Regions from separate parts of the Homo sapiens genome. Here region 2 is linked to region 1. The links are contacts of gene promoters, found by promoter capture Hi-C in blood cells and fetal thymus (Javierre and others, 2016). All regions are on one chromosome and are shown on one strand. The core of a region is centred on a gene start or on the middle of the fragment in contact, and the rest is flanking DNA. Distances in the headings are between cores, read along the strand shown. Region 1 holds the start of CAMK2D (calcium/calmodulin dependent protein kinase II delta). Region 2 overlaps LOC105377376 (a long non-coding RNA gene).

Region 1 (5,343 bases), core at 2,023-4,522:
TTACTTAAAATAAACCAGGTCACTGAGATGAGCGTACACTATGGTATTTTGTTCATTTTCATTTCATTTTTATACCATAAATTCCCATGGAAATACCTCAGACACGTGCCCACAATAATTGGAATGCCTAACATTTCAGCGTAAGTACTTTTGCATGAGTTCTACTAAATAAAAAGAATGCAGTGAGAGCCCTCCAAGTTTTTTGGTTATGTCAACAGCTATTTTACGAGTATGAATTATCTCTGTACCTATAAACTACATGTGTAAAATACATTACATGAGTCTGTGTGAAGCCTTAATGCGAAGACCAAGGTCTGAGCTGCACACAGAAACATCAAAATAAAACTAAACTTCCTAGAATATAGCAATCATAAATTTTCTTACCAAAGCTATTACTGTTAAATATACCTTGATGAATTAAGTTCAAGTGTAACTACAATTGAAATGTATGATTCAACTGAGCTATGACCTACTTCCCTCTCAAAAGCAAAAGGGAATTATGACAGTTGTGAGACTTATATTTTTCCATTCCATGGTCTAAAAGTTGTTTTATACTTAAACTATAAGCAAAATGCACCTGACATTTATTTGCTTTAAAATATAGTTATTCATGCTATTGCTCATAGGACAGATAGAATTTTAATAGCAATGTATCAAATAATAATTATATCTTTCCATGTATTTTTAAGCTGTACAGACCAAGAAGCATTCAGGAAGAAAATAATCTTAATATATAATATGATACCTAAGTCTAAAGTTCAGTTATAACTACATGATATATTTACATACAACAGAACCTATAATCAACATGACAAATACAAAATTAACCAATATATGTGGTTGAAAATACCCACCCCTAGCAGAAAGCTTTTTGGTGTTGATAATTTTGGCAGCATATTCTTGTCCAGTAGGAATTTTCATACATCTTCTCACCACTGAGAATGCCCCCCTGGAAACCAATAATTAGCAGGTCATTAATATAACAGATATAATATTTCATTAAAAATTTATAAAATCTGAGCATTTTTATTGATTTTAGTGGATTGCCAGTGAAGTACAGTAATATCCAGTAAATGAACAATTCTTCCTGGAAACCCAGACTTTCTTTAATGTTGAAGAATAAAAGTAAATTTTATTTAACTGGGAGCACACATTATTAATCAACAAAATGAAAGGAACTGCCAATTATGACCGCTCTTGTTTGCACAAGAAATTTGAAAACATTTTACAGTTCACACTCACAGCACCAAATGCTCTGAGAAAAACCCTGCACAGAACAGAGCAGACGAGGAGCAGCAAAAAAATCTGCTGCCTACTTATTTTGGTAGGAAACAAAAAATTAATGTGGTTCCAAGTAAGTAAACATGACGATTATTTTCATTAAAATATAAATCTTGAGCACATTAGTGTGGTTTAACAAATCCTGGTATGGTGATTTCTCTATGCCTTGTTTTGGACTGGGGGAGGGGAGAGATTTGAATTAAGCTGCTCTTCCGACATATTCTCCATGTTTTAACACCAGACAATATATACATATGTAATTTTTATTACTTTTAAAAATATTTACCTTTCCTTTAATTACAGTATAAACCAACAACATACATATAAACGCACTCCTTTCATAAAAGTAACAGTCGAAACTAGTGAAAGAGGAATTGGGTTTGGGTTCCATGCTACAAAAATCAGCATTCACGGCTTGGCCCCTAGGTCCCTTTGCATAAGTCCTCAGTAGGTCTCCTGCCTCCTTCCCTAACATCTCCAAGTAGTTCTGCCAGTCGGGTGAAGGAGGTGGTTTTACACAATGCTAGGCTACGCTTAAGAGCGCTCTCAGTCTCCAGAGGGCTTTTCCGTTGCCTGTATAAATAAATCCTCCCAGAGAACGCAAAGATGCACACGTAAATCCTAGGAAGAATGATGGTGAGCGGTAATCTGGTGCAAAGAACAACACTGGATATAGGGCAAGGGGTTGGGTTCTGTTGGGTGGCCCTTTTCCTGGACAGAACAACTACTGGATGCGAAATAGACTCTATGCCAAGTTGAACTTTCGGCATCAATAAATATGGCACCGTCTGAGGCTGTGAGTTCTCATCAGTACCTGGGTCATACGGCCGACACGCCGGCTAACCAGGAGGCATCTCTATTTACAGAAAACATGATCTATGTTGCATTTTACATGGGTTCTAATTTCCTCTCCAAACACACATTACACACAGGCGCGCGCGCACACTTCTCAGGATGATAGCTACAACTGCAGAGATCGTAAATTCACTAAGTCTCTCAGTGCAGGAGGGTGGGGGACCGGGAGAAGGTGGGCTAGGGACCATCAAAATGAGCCACAGTTGGAGTAAGGGTCCTACCCCTTCTGTGCTCCCTCCCTTTATTAAGACAGCACCTTCCCCAGAGCTGACAAACCAGGGGCCCTCCTCCCATTCCTCTCCCAAACTCCCTCGCCCCAAGACGGAGGCCGGTGGGTCGGGGGCAACGCGACCCGCCCTCAGCTGGAAAGGGGATATGCGGATGCCGGGCAAAGGTGCTTACTTTCCAAGCTCCTCGAAAAGCTGATACTCGTCCGTGAACCTGGTGCAGGTTGTGGTCGAAGCCATCCTCGGTCCGGGCTGTGCCCTGGCTGGGAGCGCGACGGACCAGAAGCGAGCAGACGCGCGGCTAACCCCGGGACTGGCCCCGCGGCGCTGTCACCCAGGGCCGCTCTTACTTTCCTGGTCCGAAAGTAGCTCGCCCGCGAGGGAGTGTGCGCAGGGGCGGGGCGGGAGGGGAGATGACCAGAAAGGGTGGCGTGGGGTCTCCTCCCCACAGTCCGCCGATCCTCCTCCTCCTGCGGGCCTCGCTTCCTTCTTCTCCACTGGACGCTCCACCCGCCCCTTTTCCAGTCCCTGTCCCCAAATGCAGGGGGTAAAGTACTCAAGAAGAGGGGGCCGGGAAATGGAAAAACAGCCAGGCACGGGACGAGTGGCAAGCAGTTGCGAAACGATCCGCACTGGAGCAGGAGGAGTAGAAGCAGAGGGGAGGGAGTCCGAGGGGGCGGAGGTGGAGTGCAGCGGGGCCGAGGCCGCGGAGCCCAGAGCGGACAGCCTGAGCCCAGCGGCCGCTGTCAGCAGGCTCAGGCGCGGGGCGCGCCGGGGCTCCGACGAGCGTGCGCGCCCGAGGCCGGCTTCCCTCCGGCGGGCGGCAGCGGCTCCGGCGAAGCGAGGCACCTTGGCGGCCTCGCGCTGCTCACGAGCCCGCGCGGCTTCAAGACGGCGCGGCGAGAGAAAGAGCGCTCGGCTCAGGCGAAGCCTCTTCTGCCGTCCCCAGGCCTCCGTCTCCTCCTCCGGCGCCTCCTCCCGCCGCTCCCTCCGCCTGCCAGCACCCCCTCCCTGGCGAAGCCCCCTCCTCGCTGGTCCCACACCTCCCTCTAGCGACTCCAAGCCTGTCCCTTCGTGGATCTCTCGCACTCCCTCCTTTGGTTGCACACACGAGCACACCAGTCTAGGGAGAAACCAGGTGGGTGGAGGAGGATGTGCGGGGGAGAAGACTGGAGGTTTGGGTGAATGAGGCGAGAAGTCACAGTTACCCATTTAAACCCGCACAGAGAAGGCTGCCTCAATCTGGGGCTGACTGAGCGGGAAGATGCAGGGCAACTCGAGGATGGCCCGGGGCAGCCGCCCTGGGTCGCGGAAGCCCACGCCCCTGTTTTGGGCGCCGGGCAGCAGGGACTTCTCCAGGCCGGTTCCCGGGCCACGACACCCGGTGGGCCGAGCAAGGGAGAGCAACCACTTCATCTCCACGCCGCTCAGAGTTGACACAGCAGGGGCCGGATGTGGGCTGTTCACTGCTCTCAGAGAAGGGTCCCAACCCTTCCCACAGCCACCAGCGACTGTCGGGGCAAAACCCAGCCTCAGCAGGGTTCACTGCGTCGCCAGCTCCCCAGAACCGGGCGCAGGTTTTCTCCCTCCCCCGCAGCCCCTTCTGCAAGGGGCAATGACGGCCCCTGAGCCACATTACACTTGCCACCTCCAGGCCCACCTCCCCCGCTGTTTTCCAGGATGGTGGCTGAGACTCTGGCAATCCCCAAAGGCCTTTGCTTTGGCTGTGAACGTTAAAAGAATGAAAGCAAAAACTCCGCCGCACAACCACACCTTCCCTTCCCTTCTGAGTAACTCCCCTGCAACCTCAGTAAGTTCTGATAGTAAGGCGAATTCTCGCGATATTTCCCACTCTGGCGGTCAGGGGGAGGTAGTAGGAAGGCTGGGTGTCGGTCACGCGACCCGGCGGGGGCTGACGTCATTCACATCACGTGAACACGTCTAGACTGTTTCGCTTTGCAAAGGGAAAAAAGAAAAGGGGCCGTCGTGTGTGCTTTTGCTTTCAGCCAGATAGTGGCAATTGAGTGCACTCCGTAAATGGCTATCTGGAAAAACCATTTAGCAGTTCAAGAATGTGTCCTTCCCTTTAGCATATCTGCCATTGTTTTCAGTAGGAGGAAAAAAAAAGTATGCATTACGATTTAAAATAGATAAACTGCTGCCGATTGCTAGAACAACTTCTGGGCCCTCTTTCCAGTTCTCCTTAATGAAACTATGCAATTGCAAATTTAGCCGCAGACCAAAAACAGCGTTATGGACGGTCTTTTTCAAATTACTGCCAATTGTTCTACAGCACGGGACTATAAAAACCTTGCAATCCTATTGCTAATTTGCTCGTGGTATTACTTCATAGACAAAATTTCACAGCTGAAAGATAAAAGATAATTTGCAGACACAAGAGAATCTAAGATTTAAAGGCGCTGCTGCTTGCTCCCAAAGACTGCTATTAATTAATGTTACTTTGTGGTCATAGATAATCCTAATTCCTTTTTTCCTGATCTGGGGAACGCTTCTGCCAATGAGTGAGCTTTTTACTGAAGTACTAAAAATGTTCACAAATTTTAACGTTTATTACAACAAAATTGAAGTTCGTATGTGTTTTGATTCCCAGCCGTAAAAGGCAAGAAATAACTGTGTAAAATGTAGTGCTATAGAAAAAGATGATACCAAGAACTGCATAAAAGAAACATGGTCTCTAAATATTAATAATTGGGCTATAAATTGAAAAAAAAAACACAATTTGGTCTTGGCTAAAGATTTGTAATATCTGAACTATTTAGCAATGTGGCTCCAAGGTGATAATGAAATAATTTAATATTTTTCCCTGAATCTAAGAATGAAACAGAAAAAGTAAAATTAAAACAATAAAGGTAATATAAAAATTTACATCTGGGAAGAAAATTGTTTCTTAAATATTCAAGTAATGAAGTCTACATAATTACAGTATTTATCTCAGTTATTTAAACTACCAATAATTGTA
Region 2 (4,833 bases), core at 986-3,485, 260 kb after region 1:
AAATATTACTCCATTATGTGGCATTTAGGAGTAAGAGAACAATAAAATTATTTAACAGTTTTGAATTTGGAAAATATAATGTGACAGAGTAAGCAAATATATCCTGCCAGCTTAAATCACTAGAGATTTTTACAGCATATCTTTATTCCTAACTATGAACGTAAACAAGTGAAAATTATAGAGGATAAAATATACCATTTTAGTCATAGCTTTCAGTATTATTTCCCTAACAATTTTTCTTTGTTACATCTAAATGCTTCTAAATCAGAATAAAATAACTCATTAGATTTTTGCCGGACATTGTGTTGGAAAGCACTTTTTTTTTCAGTTACTTTATTCCTTAGAGAAAAGAGAAAGGAATGAAATAAGGAGTGAAAGAAAAACAAGAATAAAGACATCTGTGTGGTCTGATAGAATAATGTGATGTGGAGGCCTGCAGAGAGATCTCTATGGACTGAAGAAAGTACTGGAACTTCTGATAAGAGCTTAGTCTTAGTGAAATAACGAACTTCCCAAACGTAGAATCCACAGAGGAGGGTTCCAGAGTATGTTTGTTGGGCTCAGTTGAATAGCTTATAGTATATAGTATATAGTCACTTAATGATGGGAGTACATTCTGAGAAATGCATCTTTAGGTGATTTTGTCATTGTGTGAACATCATAGAGTGTCCTTACATAAACCTAGATGGTATAGCCTGCTACACACCTAGGTTATATGGTATAGCCTATTGCTCCTAGGCTACAATCCTGCACAGCATGTAACTGTACTGAGCACTGTAGGCAATTGTAACACAACAGCAAGTATTTTTGTATCTAAACATATTTAAATATAGAAAAGGTACAGTAAAAATGTGGTATAATCTTATGGGACCACCATTGTACATGTGGTCTATCATTGGTGGAAATGTTGTTTTGTGGCACAGACTATTTGAATACTTGGTATATTATATGTATATAATCATATATATTACATATATATAATATATGTAATACGGCTAAAAGAATCTGCAGCTGCTGCTGTCTGCTGTCTGTCCCCAAAGCTGCTGCCATGGTAACCATACTACGCTCCCAAGCAAGTATGAGTGTTTCAGTTTCACGTATTTAGATATGCCCTTTGGGCCATTTTCAAGACACTGGCTTTTCATTTCCAAATATTAAAGCTGAAACTCTGAAGCAAGAAGACTTGTGATGAAGAATAAATGCTCATCAACTCTTTGGGATTGAAGCTTTGAATCCTGACCAGTGAGAAAGAGTTTGCAAATAAGAATTGGAGAGCTTTTGCTGGGCCAACAATTTTTAGTGTTAATTTGTGTGTGGCTGCTGTGCCTGTCTAAAGGGAGCATGTTCTTAAGCTACAAGCTGGACTTTCCTAGCAGCAGGTTGGGAAGAGTGATGATATGGAAAAATGTCCACATTGGAAGTTTTCTTGGTTACACACTTTCCAGAAGAAACTTAATTTCACAGAAGGCATTCTTGTTTCATCACTTCTTGTTTAAGAAGCTTGATGGAGATACTTGAGGTCTTAGAATCTTTTGTTAAATGGAGATAAAAAAAATACATACCTTTTAGTGTAGCTATGAAGATTAAGTAAAACAATATTTTTAAATGAATTAATGTAATGAACATGATGACACTAATAATAACTGTTATAGGCTAAATTGTATCCCCTCCAACTTCATATGTTGAAATCCTAACCCACAGTACCTCAGAATGAAGCTGTTTTGGAGATAAGGCTTTTACAGAGGTGATTACATTAAAATGGGAATGGTGATATGGGCCTTAATCTAAGTGATGCAGTTTTTGGTATTTTGTTATGGCAACCTTAGCAAACTAACCCAATAACTAACAGAGATGGAGAGCTTACTCTAGGTTTTATAATTGGTTCTATTTAATAGAAGAATTGCTAAATTAATTTAGAGACCATGGATGAAGATGCTGAAGGAAACATTCTTCCACCTTTGCCTTTAACTTCCCAATAGAACAGCTGTCACTTAGGCAATTTATTGTATCTGTATTATTGCAAGAACAAAGTAACTGAAAGGGTCCTTCACAATTTCTTTGTTACGTAACTTAGTTCTAAATGAAATATATTTAATTTTCAAATAAAATCTGGATTTTAAATTAATTTTGTATTCATTTTCTACCCATGAAAATGTTCCTTACAAATATTGTGATGTTTGAGTGTGGAGTGAGTGGAAACGTAAACCCATTTCAAAGAAGATATTTGTTTACTATATTCTTGCAAAGCATACTTTATATTGGCCCAACCTGAAAGATCTACTAGCTTTTGCTTCCTCTTTAAACAAGTGTAGTCAGTTTTACTTCCTCCCATTTTAATGTGTTTCTCTATTCTGGTGAATATGGATAAGTCTTTTCTTTCTTTTATGGTAAGTAGGAAGAAGTCTGAATCACAATTCAAAAGTCAAATTTAGTCTAAGTCAAAAATAGAAGGGGCACTAAATAAATAGGCATTTTATGATGTTCTAAGAATGCCATCAAAATTTCTGTTTAAGATTTCTGTGTGTATATGTTATATATGCATATGTATGTGATTATTAACAATATAACAGAAATAACCTGTATTGTATGTTGCTTATCTATCTATCTATCTATCATCTATCTATCTATCATCTATCTTCTATCTATCATCTTTTTTATCACATACATTTTAGCTTGGGACATAAATACAGGTTAGGTAATTAACTCTTAGCAAATTAATTAAAATGGGAATTCTTTTATTGAGGTCACATATATTTAAGTTTTAAAAACCACCTACCTGTTACTTTCAGTGTTGGTTTTTTTCCTTTAAAGATTAAGTGTAATTACCATTTGTAAATTAATTTTTAGGCGATTATTTGACTAGTAACTTGACTCTCTGACCTAGAAGAAAAAGGAGCAAAAGTCAGAAAACTCATTGAATATTGACTACAAACTGTGGTAATGCTAGATTTCCCAACAAAAATCAACTATGTAAGCTTTGGTTATATAGGTTAGTAATGCCTAGGGACAGCTTAAATTTGTAGTATGTGTACATTAGTTCATCTGAACTTTAATTAAATAAGGCATACTTTGTGTCTTGCTTATTTTGGCTTCTATTAGTTTCTTCATGACCATTCTAGGTTTTTTATCCCCATGGTCTACTAGTTTAAAAAAAAATGCTTGTTAAAACACGTTTAATCTCAAAATTGTATCATTTAAACCAAAGGACAACCATATTTTATAGACTATTCCAGTATTATATAAATTGTTATGATTTTGTCACATTTGCTGTGTATTTTATGAATAATGATGAGCACTTAATAAAATTATTTTTTTCTACCTCTGCATATTTGCTATATTAAAGTCAAGTACTTTTGCTTATACACCTGGGTGGAAGAAAAATTTTTCTGTGTTAAAAAACAGAAGAAACATTGAAATATTTGTTTTCAGATGGTAAAAAATACTGCTTGGAAATATAAATCAATATAAACAAATACTTTAAGATCTTCTAGGTGATGAATGCATAGTAAAAGTGTAGTATTTTCTTTTGAGGACATAAATGAATGATAATCATTTTTGAATGTAACTATCATAAATTAGACAATGCCTAAATTTTTGGTTTACCATTTTTAAAGGATCATGTGTGGGGCCTGCCACTTATACACATGCCTTATCTGGCAGATGCCTTTTTCAATTAGTACCTCATTTACAATATCATAAATGCAATGGTTTATTGATAAAAACTTTTAATAACCCCTTAATGGTAGTTGGGTCGCACACTGAGTCTTGTACTCCACAGGAAGACAGATTACCTTCACTGTTATTGAAAATATCTGACTTTAGAGTGTAAAAACATAAGATCTGCTCCTCTGATCTGTTTATTTTGAGGTGGGCTGTTAGATACTGACAGTGGTTATGGTGGTCCTATGGAAGGGGTGGTTTTTCTTTCTTGACATCATCCTCAAAAGTTGAGGACTTGCATCAAATCCCCCTCTCCTTTCCTCTCTTTCTTATTCACTCCATCCTGTCCTCGTAAATAGTATATACTAATGTCATTTTATAGATTCATCATACCTATAAAAAATATAAACCATGTAGTTATGGGAAGTAATTTATATTTATATTAATATGTTCCAAGTTTTCTGAGACAAGCAACTGTGTCCGATTAACTTTTGTCTCCTACCTGTGTCTCTTGTGTCTAATGTAAGCTTTGGTACCAATAGCAGATACTAAATATCTGTTGAGTGAATGACCGGCCTAAATATCCTTCTGAGATAAAGTGTTCCATCATGAGCTGTATGAGGTAATGATTAATTTGTTTTAAATTGATTCTTTTGAGTTTTAAACTATAACTTTTTAACCCAATATGCCAGCATAGATGAAAATATCTTATAGATACCATTTATATGTTCTTGGGAAACCTATAAATGTCTCAATATATTTGAAATTGTTCAGATTAAATTTCTCCCATCAAGAAGAATGGGCAAACACTGAGTTTAGTTGTGGAAAATTGAGTGGGCTATTAGTAGACCTGAACTTGTGATTTGAGAAATGTGTACCTTCACCTGCGGATAAAATGTAATATCTCATTTTGTAGACTTACTAGGTACTTGTAACAATGAGTTAAATATGTATGATATACTTTCTAGCAAAGTTGCTATGTAGTTAAATAACAAGAATGGTGCAGACCATTAGTTTAATAGGAATTCAAACACTGTGGTCTAGAAAGGTGAGTAAAGTTTCACTTCAGGAAGTGAAACCTGAGAAAGGCTGTGAAAAATACGTGCCAGCTGAAGGGACATTATATGGTTCAAAGTCCTAGGAAGCTGCTAGCAGCGTGTGAGTGCTAGCACC

What was found. The method cuts DNA at HindIII sites, captures the fragments that hold promoters and counts their contacts. A CHiCAGO score of 5 or more calls a contact.
Region 2: a contact is called between a fragment that was not itself captured here and the fragment with the promoter of CAMK2D in region 1, in 1 of 17 cell types (activated CD4 T cells). The highest score is 5.6, in activated CD4 T cells.

The regions. Positions count from the first base shown.
Region 1 is chr4:113,758,466-113,763,808 of GRCh38, forward strand. CAMK2D (calcium/calmodulin dependent protein kinase II delta) reads right to left here and starts at 3,273. Exons shown (of 21, transcript NM_001321571.2): 1 at 2,539-3,273; 2 at 855-949. The coding sequence starts at 2,603. RefSeq lists a silencer at 3,060-3,469 and enhancers at 3,463-4,001, 4,002-4,540. The HindIII fragment of the contact is 14,700 bases long and covers 866-5,343 here.
Region 2 is chr4:114,020,590-114,025,422 of GRCh38, forward strand. LOC105377376 (a long non-coding RNA gene) reads right to left here. Exons shown (of 3, transcript XR_939088.2): 3 at 2,777-2,880. Among named protein-coding and RNA genes, the nearest start is that of ARSJ, 43 kb to the left of the region's middle. The HindIII fragment of the contact is 1,475 bases long and covers 1,499-2,973 here.